Linked DNA regions of Homo sapiens: region 2 is linked to region 1. The links are contacts of gene promoters, found by promoter capture Hi-C in blood cells and fetal thymus (Javierre and others, 2016). All regions are on one chromosome and are shown on one strand. The core of a region is centred on a gene start or on the middle of the fragment in contact, and the rest is flanking DNA. Distances in the headings are between cores, read along the strand shown. Region 1 holds the start of SEC23IP (SEC23 interacting protein). Region 2 overlaps TIAL1 (TIA1 cytotoxic granule associated RNA binding protein like 1).

Region 1 (7,064 bases), core at 4,533-7,032:
CCTTATTAGGGAGGGACATATTGGCCAAAGCTGGAGCTATTATCTACATGAATATGGGGAACAATTTACCCATTTGTTGCCCCCTGTTTGAGGAGGGAGTCAACCCTGAAATATGGGCATTGGAAAGACAATTTGGAAGGGCAAAAAATGCCCACCCACTCCAAATCAGGCTAAAAGACCCCACCACTTTTCCTTATCAAAGACAATATCCCTTAAGGCCTAAAGCTCATAAAGGATTACAGGATATTGTTAGACATCTAAAAGCTCAAGGTTTACCAAGAAAATGCAGTAGTCCCTGCAACACCCCAATTCTAGGAGTACAAAAACCGAATGGTCAGTGGAGACTAGTGCTTAGATCTTAGACTCATCAGTGAGGCAGTAATTCCTCTATATCTAGTTGTAACCAACCCCTATACCCTGCTCTTTCAAATACCAGAGGAAGCAGAATGGTTCACTGTTCCTGACCTCAAGGATACCTTCTTCTGTATTCCCCTGCACTCTGACTCCCAGTTTCTCTTTGCCTTCGAGGATCCCACAGACCACACGTCCCAACTTACGTGGATGGTCTTGCCCCAAGGGTTTAGGGATAGCCCTCATCTGTTTGGTCAGGCACTTGCCCAAGATCTAGGCCACTTCTCAAGTCTAGGCATTCTAGTCCTTCAGTATGTGGATGATTTACTTTTGGCTACCAGTTTGGAAGCCTCATGCCAGCAGGCTACCCTAGATCTCTTAAACTTTCTAGCTAATCAAGGGTACAAGGCGTCTAAATCGAAGGCCTAGTTCTGCCTATAACGAGACAAATATCTAGGCCTAATTTTAGCCAGAGGAACCAGGGCCCTCAGCAAGGAACGAATACAGCCTATACTGGCTTATCCTTACCCTAAGACATTTAAACAGTTGTGGGGGTTCCTTCGAATCACTGGCTTTGCTGACTATGGATCCCTGGATACAGTGAGATGGCCAGACCCCTCTATACTCTAATCAAGGAGACCCAGAGGGCAAATACTCATCTAGTAGAATGGGAACCAGAGGCAGAAACAGCCTTCAAAACTTTAAAGCAGGCCCTAGTACAAGCTCCAGCCTTAAGCCTTCCCACAGGACAAAAACCTCTCTTTATATGTCACAGAGAGAGCAGGAATAGCTCTTGGAGTCCTTACTCAAGACTTGAGGGACAACCCCACAACCAGTGGCATACCTAAGTAAGGAAATTGATATAGTAGCAAAAGGCTGGCCTCACTGTTTATGGGTAGTTGTGATGGTGGCCATCTCAGTGTCAGAGGCTATCAAAATAATACAAGGAAAGGATCTCATTGTCTGGACTACTCATGATGTAAATGGCATACTAGGTGCCAAAGGAAGTTTATGGCTATTAGACAACTGCCTGCTCAGATACCAGGCACTACTTCTTGAGGGACCGGTGCTTCAAATACGCATATGTGTGGCCCTCAATCCCGCCACTTTTCTCCCAGAGGATGGAGAACCAATCAAGCATGACTGCCAACAAATTATAGTCCAGAGTTATGCTACCCAAGAGGATCGCTTAGAAGTCCCCTTAGCTAATCCTGACCTTAACCTATATACTGATGGAAGTTCATTTGTGGAGAATGGGATACGAAGAGCAGGTTATGCCATAGTTAGTGATGTAACAATACTTGAAAGTAAGCCTCTTCCCCCAGGGACCAGCACCAAGTTAGCAGAACTACTGGCACTTACCTGAGCCTTAGAAAGGGAAAAAGAATAAATGTGTATACAGATAGCAATTATGCTTATCTAATCCTACATGCCCATGCTGCAATATGGAAAGAAAGGGAGTTCCTAACCTCCGGGGGAACCCCCACTAAATACCACAAGGAAATCATGGAGTTGTTGCATGCAGTGCAAAAACCCAAGGAGGTGGCAGTCTTACACTGCTGAAGCCATCAAAAAGGGGAAGGAGAGGGGAGAACAGCAGCATAGCAGCATATGCGGCTGGCAGAAGCAGGGAAAGACCAGCAGAGAGAAGGAAAGAAAGAGAGAAAGACAGAAAGTCGAAGAGAGAGAGAGAAAGAGACAGAGACAAAAAAGGAGTCAAAGAGAGAAAGAGACAGAAAGTCAAAGAGAAAGAAAGAGAGAAAGGGAGAGAAGTAGTAAAGAAAAAACAGTGTACCCTATTCCTTTAAAAGCCAGAGTAAATTTAAAACCTATAATTGATAATTGAAGGTCTTCTCCATGACCCTGTAACACTCCAACACCACCTGGTTGTCAGTGTAAACAAGGGCATAGCCCGAAAGCACTGAGGCCACTGACAACCCATAGCCTTCCTATCAAAAATCCTTAACCCAGCAGGTTTCCTAACAGGGGATCTAAATCTTAATTACCATACAAAGGTCCAACCAGATCTAGGAGGAACTCCCTTCAGGACAGGACTATAGCTGGTTCCTCCCCAGCGATTAAGGGAGAAAGACACAATGAGTATTCAGTAAGTGATAAGGAAACTCTTGTAGAAGCAGAGTTAGGAAAATTGCCTAATAATTGGTCTGTTCAAACGTGCTCCAGCTATCAGTACTCAGCCAAACCTTAAAGTACTCACAGAATCAGGAAGAAGCCATCTATACCAATTGTAAGTTAATATGGATTGAACAAGGTCTTATTAATACAAAGAATAATTGAAATCCCAAACTTACAAGGTTTTCAACAAAAGTAAAGTTTGCTAAAAGTTAACAGTGTAACATATATTATCCTACTACCACACACTCTCAAAGGATTTCTCAGACAGTTTGCAAGAAATAACAAAATCTATCCTTATTCTACAATTCCAAATAGACTCTTTGGCAGCAGTGACCCTCCAAAACCACCGAGGCCTAGACCTCCTCACTGCTGAGAAAGGAGGACTTTGCACCTTCTTAGGGGAAGAGTGTTGCTTTTACACTAACCAGTCAGGGATAGGATGAGGTGCCGCCTGGTGTTTACAGGAAAAGGCTTCTGAAATCAGACAACGCCTTTCAAACTCTTATATCAACCTCTGGAGTTGGGCGATATGGCATTTCCCCTTTCTAGGTCCTGTGATGGCCATCTTGCTATTATTCACCTTCGGGCCCTGTATTTTTAACCTCCTTGTCAAATTTGTTTCCTCTAGGATTGAGGCCATCAAGCTACAGATGGTCTTACAAATGGAACCCCAATGAGCTCAACTAACAACTTCTACTGAGGACCCCTGCACCAACCCGCTGGCCCTTTGACTGGCATAAAGAGTTCCCCTCTGGAGGACACTACAACTGCAGGGCTCCTTCTTCAACCCATCCAGCAGGAAGTAGCTACAGAGGTCATTGCCCAATTCCCAACAGCTCTTGGGGTGTCCTCTTTAGAGGGGGGATTGAGAGGTGAAGCCAGCTAGACTTCCTGGGTTGAGTAGGGACTTGGAGAACTTTTCTGTCTAGCTAGAGGATTGTAAATGCACCAATCAGTGCTCTGTGTCTAGCTGAAGGACTGTAAATGCACCAATCAGCACTCTGTAAAAACACACCAATCAGTGCTCTGTGTCTAGCTAGAAGATTGTAAATGCACCAATCAGCACTCTGTAAAAATGCACCAATCAACACTCTGTGTCTAGCTAAAGGATTGTAAATGCACCAATCAGCATTCTTTACAATGGACCAATCAGCGCTCTGTAAAATGGACCAAGCAGCAGGATGAGGGCAGTGACAAATAAATAAATAAAAGCTGGCCACCCGAGCCAGCAGCAGCAACCCAGTCAGGTCCCCTTCCACGCTACGGAAGCTTTGTTCTTTCGCTCTTCACAATAAATCTTGCTGCTGCTCACTCTGGGTCTGTGCCACCTTGAAGAGCTGTAACACTCACCACAAAGGTCCGCGGCTTCATTCTTGAAGTCAGTGAGGCCAAGAACCCACCGGAAGGAACCAACTCCGGACACATGACCACTGAGAACTGTCTTCTCAAGGACCTGGGGGTTTGTCTCTTGAATTGCAAGCCTTCAAGGAGGTGGTTCTCATTCTCATTCCCAGTCCCTGTGGCTACCTTGCTCTCTTACACCACTGCTTGTCATGAAGACAGAAAAATTATGTCTCCTCTGGATAAGCATGGATTAACACACCCAGATGGCCTAGTTGCAGGACGAACCAACCCTTCACACTCCTCAGCACCTTTCCCTTAGCACACCACAGCCTCTAAAAAGCCTCCAAATTTTTGTTTCAGCAAAGTTGTGTTCAGTTCATGCTGGACCCAATTCCCTAGCAATAGTTTTCATTAAATAAAATCTAATTTACTGCTTTAACGAGTGTCCCACTTAAAAAATTTTTCTTGACAGTAAGCACATGAAATCGTTATTGAATTAATAAACTTAGGTTCTATATATGTGTAAACAGCTGAGCAGAGTTTCATTATTTTGAGCGTTCTTTTGGTATCTCCTCTCCCAACCTCCAAGAAGCTGAAATATGGCTTAAGTTATATTTTCCTTCAAAATCTCTAACTATGAAAGATGACAATTATGTCCAAGTTATCCACAGTACCTCCTGGATTGAAGTAAGTCAGCTTACTGTGGATATAGAAAGCTATCTAAAATGTCAGATCTCTAATTTCAATGCCCTGGTTTCTTTTTTTTTCTTTTTTTTTTTTTTAAGGAGACAGGGTCTCGCTGCACAGTGAGTGGCAAGATCAGGGTTAATTTGGCCTCAAGCAATATTCCCGCCTCAGCCTCCTGAGTAGCTGGCAATATAGGTGCTATGCCACCAAGCCCGGCTAATTTTTGTATTTTTAGTAGAGACGGGGTTTCACCATGTTGGCCAGGTTGGTCTCAACCTTCTGGGCTCAAGCTATCCTCCCGCTCTGCCTCACAAAGTGCTGGGATTGCAGGCCTGCGCCATGGCGTCTGGTTTGATTTCTCTTTTAAATATTTTTTTTGGCCAGGCGTGGTGGTTCATGCCTATAATCCCAGCAGTTTGGGAGGCCAAGGCGGGCAGATCACGAGGTCAGGAGATTGAGACCATCCTGGCCAACCCGGTGAAACCTCGTCTTTACTAAAAATACAAAAAATTAGCCAGGCGTGGTGGCGGACGCCTGTAGTCCCAGCTACTCGGAGGCTGAGGCAGGAGAATCGCTTGAACCCGGGAGGCGGAGATTGCAATGAGCCCAGACTGCACCGCTGCACTCCAGCCTGGGCGACACAGCAGACTTGTCTCAAAACAAAAAACAAAACCAACCAAAAAAACAAAAAACAAATGCAAAACAAAAAACAACAAAAATAAAACGAAATATTTTTTTCTCCCTATGGATTAAACACTTAAAAAATGTTTTACCACTTCTATTTCTGGGTCAACCACAATGTTCGGTTCCATCCAGAAAGACAAGTGGGTTTTGGAGAGGGTGTTTGGTTCCGCCTAGCATGCGAATTCCCATTCCCGCACAACGCTCTTCCTCCCTTCCTCCTTCCGGTAGCGTCCAGCAGGATTCCGCTGTTCCTCCAAAATCTTTGTCAGGAGAGCCATCCTGACGGTACCTTTAGGAAGCCCATAGATACCCGCCACAACCTGTGACTTTCAGGGTCAATTGCGTCTCAATTCGCACGTCTATCCAGAACCTGCGGGGACCACGTCCCCATCCTCCCGCCCGGCCTCCGCCTCCGAGGGTGTCACGTGCTAGACGCGGGCGTGAAGACAGTGTCGCCATGTTGATATCTGGCGTCGCCGTGTAGGGGAAGGGAGAGGGCGGCTGACTAGCTACCCGTAATTTCGGCTCCTGTGCGCAAGTGCGGAAGTGCGCTGGCCAGGAGCGTGATCGGTTTCCGGTCAGTGGTGTGGTACCGGGTACCCGGAGACGTGTATCGGACGGTGGGCCGCAGCCATGGCCGAGAGAAAACCTAACGGTGGCAGCGGCGGCGCCTCCACTTCCTCATCGGGCACTAACTTACTTTTCTCCTCCTCGGCCACGGAGTTCAGCTTCAATGTGCCCTTCATCCCAGTCACCCAGGCCTCCGCTTCTCCGGCCTCCCTGCTCTTACCGGGAGGTAATAAGGGGAGGGCGGCCCCGTGTGTGGTGGGAGGCGGGCGGGGGACGTGCAATGACAAAGGTCAGACGGGAGTTTTTCCTTCTGCCTCGAGCTACCCTCTGGATAGCTTGCCAGGATCATTACTGGCCAGGTTTGAGTGGGTCGGGGGCTTTGGGATCTTGGAGGTGGCAGGTGATGAGACTTGCTCTTCACGGAAACCCCCTGTTCCGAGTTGTCCAGAGTGCTGGACATTCATTCGTACCCTGGCATTCCGCAAATCTTTGCTGAATACCCGTTGTTGGTACGCCAGGTGCTGGCAGGAAATGCAAATAAATTAAACAGTGGCCCTCTCCTAGGGTACAGTAGTCTGTCTCCCACTAGGAGACTCCTAGGATACGGTAAGATACCTCCTAGGATGGACTGTGCCCCTCTCCTAGGATACGGTACACTGTCTCCTACTAGGAGATTGTTGTGATACAGTACAATATCTTCTAGGTTACAGTAAGATATCTTATAAGATGGACTGTGCCCCTCTTCTAGAAGCCTGTAATATTTGTGAAGTAGACATATACAATGCATTCCTTATCTTTTTTTTTTTTTTTTTTTTTTTGAGACGGAGTCTTGCTCTGTCGCCCAGGCTGGAATGCAGTGGCGCGATCTCGGCTCACTGCAGCCTCCACCTTCCAGGTTCAAGTGATTCTCCTGCCTCAGCCTCCCGAGTAGCTGGGACTACAGGCGTCTGCCACCATGCCTGGCTAATTTTTGTATTTGTAGTAGAGACAGGGTTCCACCATGTTGGCCAGGATGGTCTCAATCTCCTGACCTCAAGTGATCCGCCTGCCCTGGCCTCCCAAAGTGCTGGGATTACAGGTTTAACCCCCCACCCATTCCTCATCTTTCAAGACAATACATCACTTCTTCCAAGAAGCTGTTTCTTGTTCTCTTAGGCCCCCACTCCTATGTGCACTCCTAGCTCTTTTTTCATATTTGTATTATTGTCCAGGGAGATTGCTTTTTGATGATTATGTAGCATTGCCCAGAGCATAGTGTTTAAGAGCACAGACTGTCTGTATTCCAGTCCTTG
Region 2 (5,589 bases), core at 1,666-4,165, 300 kb before region 1:
AAGATAACTACAATTTCTAATTAAAAATAATTTATAACACACACACACATACAACAAATACTAATTCATTAAAACATCTGATTGTAATAGGATATTAAACATAAAGTGAGTTTATCTTAGATTCCCAACCAAAGCAATTACATGAACAAAGAACAGAATTAAAGTTATAGTAAAACATACAGAGGGTGGAGGGTTTTTGTTGTTTTGTTTTTGGCTGAGTAAGGTTGTTTGCAATGATGTCTTCACTGTTTCATTTTAGGAGAGCAGGGTAAAATATAAAATTTCCTAGTCTAAAATGCATCAGAATCAACAAAATATATATGTATTTTTTTGAGATGGAGTCTCACTCTGTCACCCAGGCTGGAGTGCAGTGGCATGATCTCAGCTCACTGCAACCTCCGCCTCCCAGGTTCAAGCGATTCTCCTGCCTCAGCCTCCCAGGTAGCTGGGACTACAGGCGTGCACCACCACGCCCGGCTAATTTTTGTATTTTTAGTAGAGACGGGGTTTCACCATGTTGGCCTGGCTGGTCTCAAACTCCTAACCTCAAGTGATCCACCTGCCTGAGTCTCCCAAAGTGCTGGGATTACAGGAGTGAGCCACCATGCCCAGCCAACAAAATATATCTTAATGTAGATAAAAAAGCTAATACAAAGATTTCTTAAGAAATTCAGAGAAAAACTAAGACAAATCCAGGCATACTTTTGACTATGGACACTTAAAAATTTGGGTTTTTTTTCCTAATTACAATTGAATGTGTTTTGTGTAAAAGATTTTAAATACAGGAAAGTTTAAAAAAGAAAAGAAAAAAATGCTACTTCATCACACAGAGAGGACCACCTTGGTTTATGTCTTGTACTATGGATTTATCTTAATTTATCTAAATAAATTGCCAAACACTAAAGTCTTTCTGGTATTCTACACATAATTCCTCAAATTTGCATCTGTTATGAACAACCTCATAAACCAAACAATATCTGTAAAATTTAACAAAGTTCATTCTGGAAAGTAGATTTCTTTTTCTACTTGTAATATATTACATCTGGAAACTGAGTATTAAGACCAAAATAAGACTTGCAACATAGCTGCCACATTAAATACACAACATGCTTTAAGATGGAATACTCAAAGGGAAAAATAGACTGAGAAAGCTTAGGTTAAGTAAAAAACTTAAAAGATCCAATTAAGAATTAGTAGCGATTTTCCAGTTAAGAATTTTATTGCAATGAGTACTAATAATCTTAGTGTACCTGCTCTAAAATTGAAACACACATCCAATATTACCTAACTAGAGGACTAAACAAGTGACAAACTGTTTTACGTCCACTATGCCACCTTTTCCACGTAATTAAGGAGCTGATCCATCAGCAGGCCAATGTAGTGACATACTTTTTCCAGCAGGACTAAAAGGTTATTGGGTTATGAGCCAGCGATAGGCTGCTTGCCCCTTCTTAACTCATAGGGGTTTGTGAGCCTGTATCTCTGAAATGATTTCTTTTTGTACAGAGTAGACCTATCTGTAAGAAAAATGAACAAGTGACCAGGCATGGTGGCTCACGCCTGTAATCCCAGCACTTTGGGAGGCTATGGCAGGCGGATCATGAGGTCAGGAGTTTGAGACCAGCCTGACCAACATGGTGAAACCCTGTCTCCACAAAAAATACAAAAATTAGCCGGGCATGGTGGCGCGCACCTATAATCCCAGCTACTCGGGAGGCCGAGGCAGGAGAATCGCTTGAACCTGGGAGGCAGAGGTTGCAGTGAGCCGAGATTGCACCATTGCACTCCAACCTGGGCGACAGAGTGAGACTCCATCTCAAAAAAATAAATAAAAAAGAAAGAGAGAAAGAGAGAGAGACAGAGAGAAAGAGAGAAAGAAAGAAAGAAAGAAAGAAAGAAAGAAAGAAAGAAAGAAAGAAAGAAAGAAAGAAACGAACAAGTGATCTTGAGCTTCTAAACATTATGCTCCTTGCCTAAAGGGCTAGTTAGCTCACTTCTAAGAGAAAAGAAGGATGGATAAAACTGGTTTTCACATATTGAAGCTAGCTAATAACAAAATTAAAATAGAATTATCATTTTAATATAACACATTTTAAATGATTTAAATAGTTTTAAATTTCCATTACTGTTTAAACATCAATTTCTTCAGGAAAAACTGTATTGGAATTAGTTACCTTCTATATCTAATAGTCACAAAAAAAGCCGTCACTGCTTAATAAGATCTTTATTCCACCAGGTGTGGTGGCTCACACCTGTAATCCTAACACTCTGGGAAGCCGAGGCAGGTGGATCACTTGAGGTCAGGAGTTCAAGACCAGCCTGGCCAACATGGTGAAACCCCGTCTCTACTAAAAACACAAAAAATTAGCCAGGCATGGTGGCGGGCACCTGTAATCCCAGCTACTTGGGGGAGGCTGAGGCAGGAGAATCACTTGAACCCGGGAGGTGGAGGTTGCAGTGGGCTGAGATCGCGCCATGGCACTCCAGCCTGGGCAACAAGAGCGAAACTCCATCTGAAAAAAAAAAAAAAATCTTTATTCTAAGTCAACCTATTTCCCGCCAGTTACAGATCTTGAAGAATTTCTAGAGGCATATTTAGATATATTAATTTACATTTCTAGCACTGAAAGCAAAGATGAAAACGTTAATATCTAAGTTTAGAATGTCATGAAATATTTATTTAAAAATCCAGTATTAAGGTTTCCTATTTTTCAAATTATCTCCACTAAAAGTTAAATGTTAAGCAGCAAACTAAATTTCAAAAACTAACATGAAAGGCCTTCCATAACAACACATACAATATCTTAATTTACCAGGATTAAAAGGCCATGATTCACTATATAATTTCACCTAAACTTTACCCAAATTTCAGACTGCCTTTTCTTTTACTGAGTTCTTGTACCCAAATTTCAGATTGCCTCTTCATTTACATTTGCCTTCGTGCATCATAACACTTGAGAGACGTATTGTATAGCTTTTAAAATACTGTACTATTCTATTTTAAGTACTTTTACAGTATCATAAAATAATCTGTCCCAAAGTAAATACTAACAAAAATATTTAAGACAAAGTTCAATGCCTGACCTAGTAAGATCATCTCTTGGTAGTTCATTGAAATGACATCTTTATTCGTTCCAAATTATAGCTTCTACACTTCACTTTCTTTCTGCTCTGGTTATGAAATAGTCAAGCTAAAGATCCAAGTCTTTAAATATATAATTGCTACCTAAAGAACATACACAAAATAACAGAAAAAAGATAAATGGCTCTAATTTTTGTATTGAGAGGTCAATTCAAAGAGTAAACACTTAGGAAATTCCAAAATGATTTTTAACTCAACGAAAAAATTCAGAAGAGGCATACCTTAGAGTCTATTTTGTCTTCTAAGAACAGGAACTGTAGGAACTGAAGCATTAAAAACTGAAAATGACACCTTTATCTCTAATATCAGGGTTAAAATCCAATTTGGGGCTAAAAACTTAGCAGTTTCACAGTAGGCAGAAATTCACATTGCCAAACTACTTCCTGTGTCCGACTGGGCAGAATTTTAAGTTAAGAATATCATGCCTTTCAGAAGACTAATGACACTTTTTCAACACTGAATGTGCTCTCACTCTGAAAAGAGTAGCCCTACCAAGGCTGAAATTATCAGCACTTTCACACAAAAAACTATAGCTAAATTTCCATAATAGTTTTGCTTTTGTTCTTGACAAGTCCTATACAAGAAGAGATTTTGCAATAATATCCTTCAATAGATCTCTAATTAATTGTTCAATTTGTCGGTACAGTATTTCATTTTAGGAAGGAGGCATGATGGAAGATAGCTGCAGGAGGTACAACTAAATTGACCAACTATATATATGAGATATTCTCACACACACACACACACACACACACTCACTCTCTCTCTCTTACTTTAAAGAAACAAAGAATATGATTAAGTTGAATTTGAATGAGGGGCTTGATTATAGCCACAGTATAGCCAAATCCATGGTATAGCCAGTCAATTTTGTAATAGTTTATAGAATTTTCTTCTGCTTTGTTCTTAGATGTTCAGATTATACTCTAAATCATTAGCTTATTTCCAGGAAGAAAGAATAGCCTTAAAGGAAGGGATTGTGTAACATGGTATTACACGAATTCCTAGCAATTTTGGTGCATCCGATAGATGAAGAAAATAAAATAAGCTACAATAAAACACTATTACAATTTAGTGTCATATTGTAGATTCAGATATACCATGGATCAAATCACTGCACTACAAAGATACACACAACCCAAGCCTGAAATGTGTGTCCCACAAGGCAGGTGTCAGACAGTCCAGTTCCAACACCAGTATTACACAGCATGATCTTGTTTGTTTTTTTAGATCACAAGTTACTCAATGCATAATACCCCAAAATAAATGTCAAATGAGAATGAAGAACATCAGAAAACAGACCTTTAAAGCAACTATATGACAAATAGAAATTTAGGCTCAACATCAAAGCAATTCTTGCCACTTTAAATACCATCAAATAAATTAGTAATACTGTAGGTAATGAATATTTAAAGACCTACCTAGGCTCTAAACACCATATTGTTTTCTGAAGATAGAACCATATGTCTTAGCTTGTGTGTGTCTGCAGGAAAAAAACCTCACTAGTAACACACAGGCATCTTAAGGAAACAATTTAAGATAAGCTTTGTTAAGAACACATTCTTTTAAAACATACTGGCCACTTGAAAAACCTAATCCATAGCTCACAATGTAAAATATAAGATCTCCATAAACAAAAAACCCTACTAGATATCAACGTCTAAAATCATGTTCAGTTTTCATCATGTTACTTATATCTAATAGAACCCTTTGAGAATATGTAAAACGTACACTTAGAAAAACTATGCATTATTTGTATTAAACTCTAATAAAAATCCCAATTGTTAAACATTTGCTTTTATCTCAAGATTTTACATTTGAAGGTTTTAAAAAATATATAAAAGTCAACAGACTGCACCACATGTGACAGTAATGTCTGCCTACAATCTTAGTTCAACCAGGACTTTTAAAAAAGAACTTAATACTAATTTAATGAAAGAAGTATAATCACTGTAGAAATTCTGAGTACCTCTTATGTTCCAGGCAGTGAACTAAGTGCTGTGGGGGTAAGACCTAGGAAGATGTAGTAGTCCTTCTCTTAAAAAAAAAAAAAGGCCCTATGGAAAAGGGTGGGAGAAGGAAAAAGGAAGACAGAATAGTAAACACGTACTGACATACAAAACAACAGAGTTAAGATGTTTATTTATTCATATGAACATGTCACAGTTTTAGAGAACTGTAAACATAGACAACTTAACTGTTTCAAAGAAAGAACAAGAGATTAGAGAAGGTAGAGGAAGGAAATAAGTGACAAAGAAGTTAGCTTATTATTCCCCTGGAGAAACTCTGATAGGGATGAAGGCAAGGCAGATGCAAAGATAAATAAAAGACATCAAAAAAGCACATTCTTTAGCACTACAAAACCAGAGATTCCTCTTGGTAAGGAACAGATACAGTAAATGAGACCCCTGCCATGAGTATTTATCAATCATTCAGTGTGTGATGATACT

What was found. The method cuts DNA at HindIII sites, captures the fragments that hold promoters and counts their contacts. A CHiCAGO score of 5 or more calls a contact.
Region 2: a fragment that was not itself captured here is called in contact with the fragment with the promoter of SEC23IP in region 1 in 9 of 17 cell types (neutrophils, monocytes, naive CD4 T cells and 6 more); the score reaches 10.9 in neutrophils.

Annotation. Positions count from the first base shown.
Region 1 is chr10:119,886,948-119,894,011 of GRCh38, forward strand. It overlaps SEC23IP (SEC23 interacting protein), which reads left to right and starts at 5,783. Exons shown (of 19, transcript NM_007190.4): 1 at 5,783-5,998. The coding sequence starts at 5,836. RefSeq lists enhancers at 2,159-2,697, 4,498-5,009, 5,010-5,520, 5,521-6,031. The HindIII fragment of the contact is 6,362 bases long and covers 3,755-7,064 here.
Region 2 is chr10:119,588,892-119,594,480 of GRCh38, forward strand. All of the region lies in intron 1 of TIAL1 (TIA1 cytotoxic granule associated RNA binding protein like 1), which reads right to left. Among named protein-coding and RNA genes, the nearest start is that of TIAL1, 5.3 kb to the right of the region's middle. The HindIII fragment of the contact is 3,532 bases long and covers 1,150-4,681 here.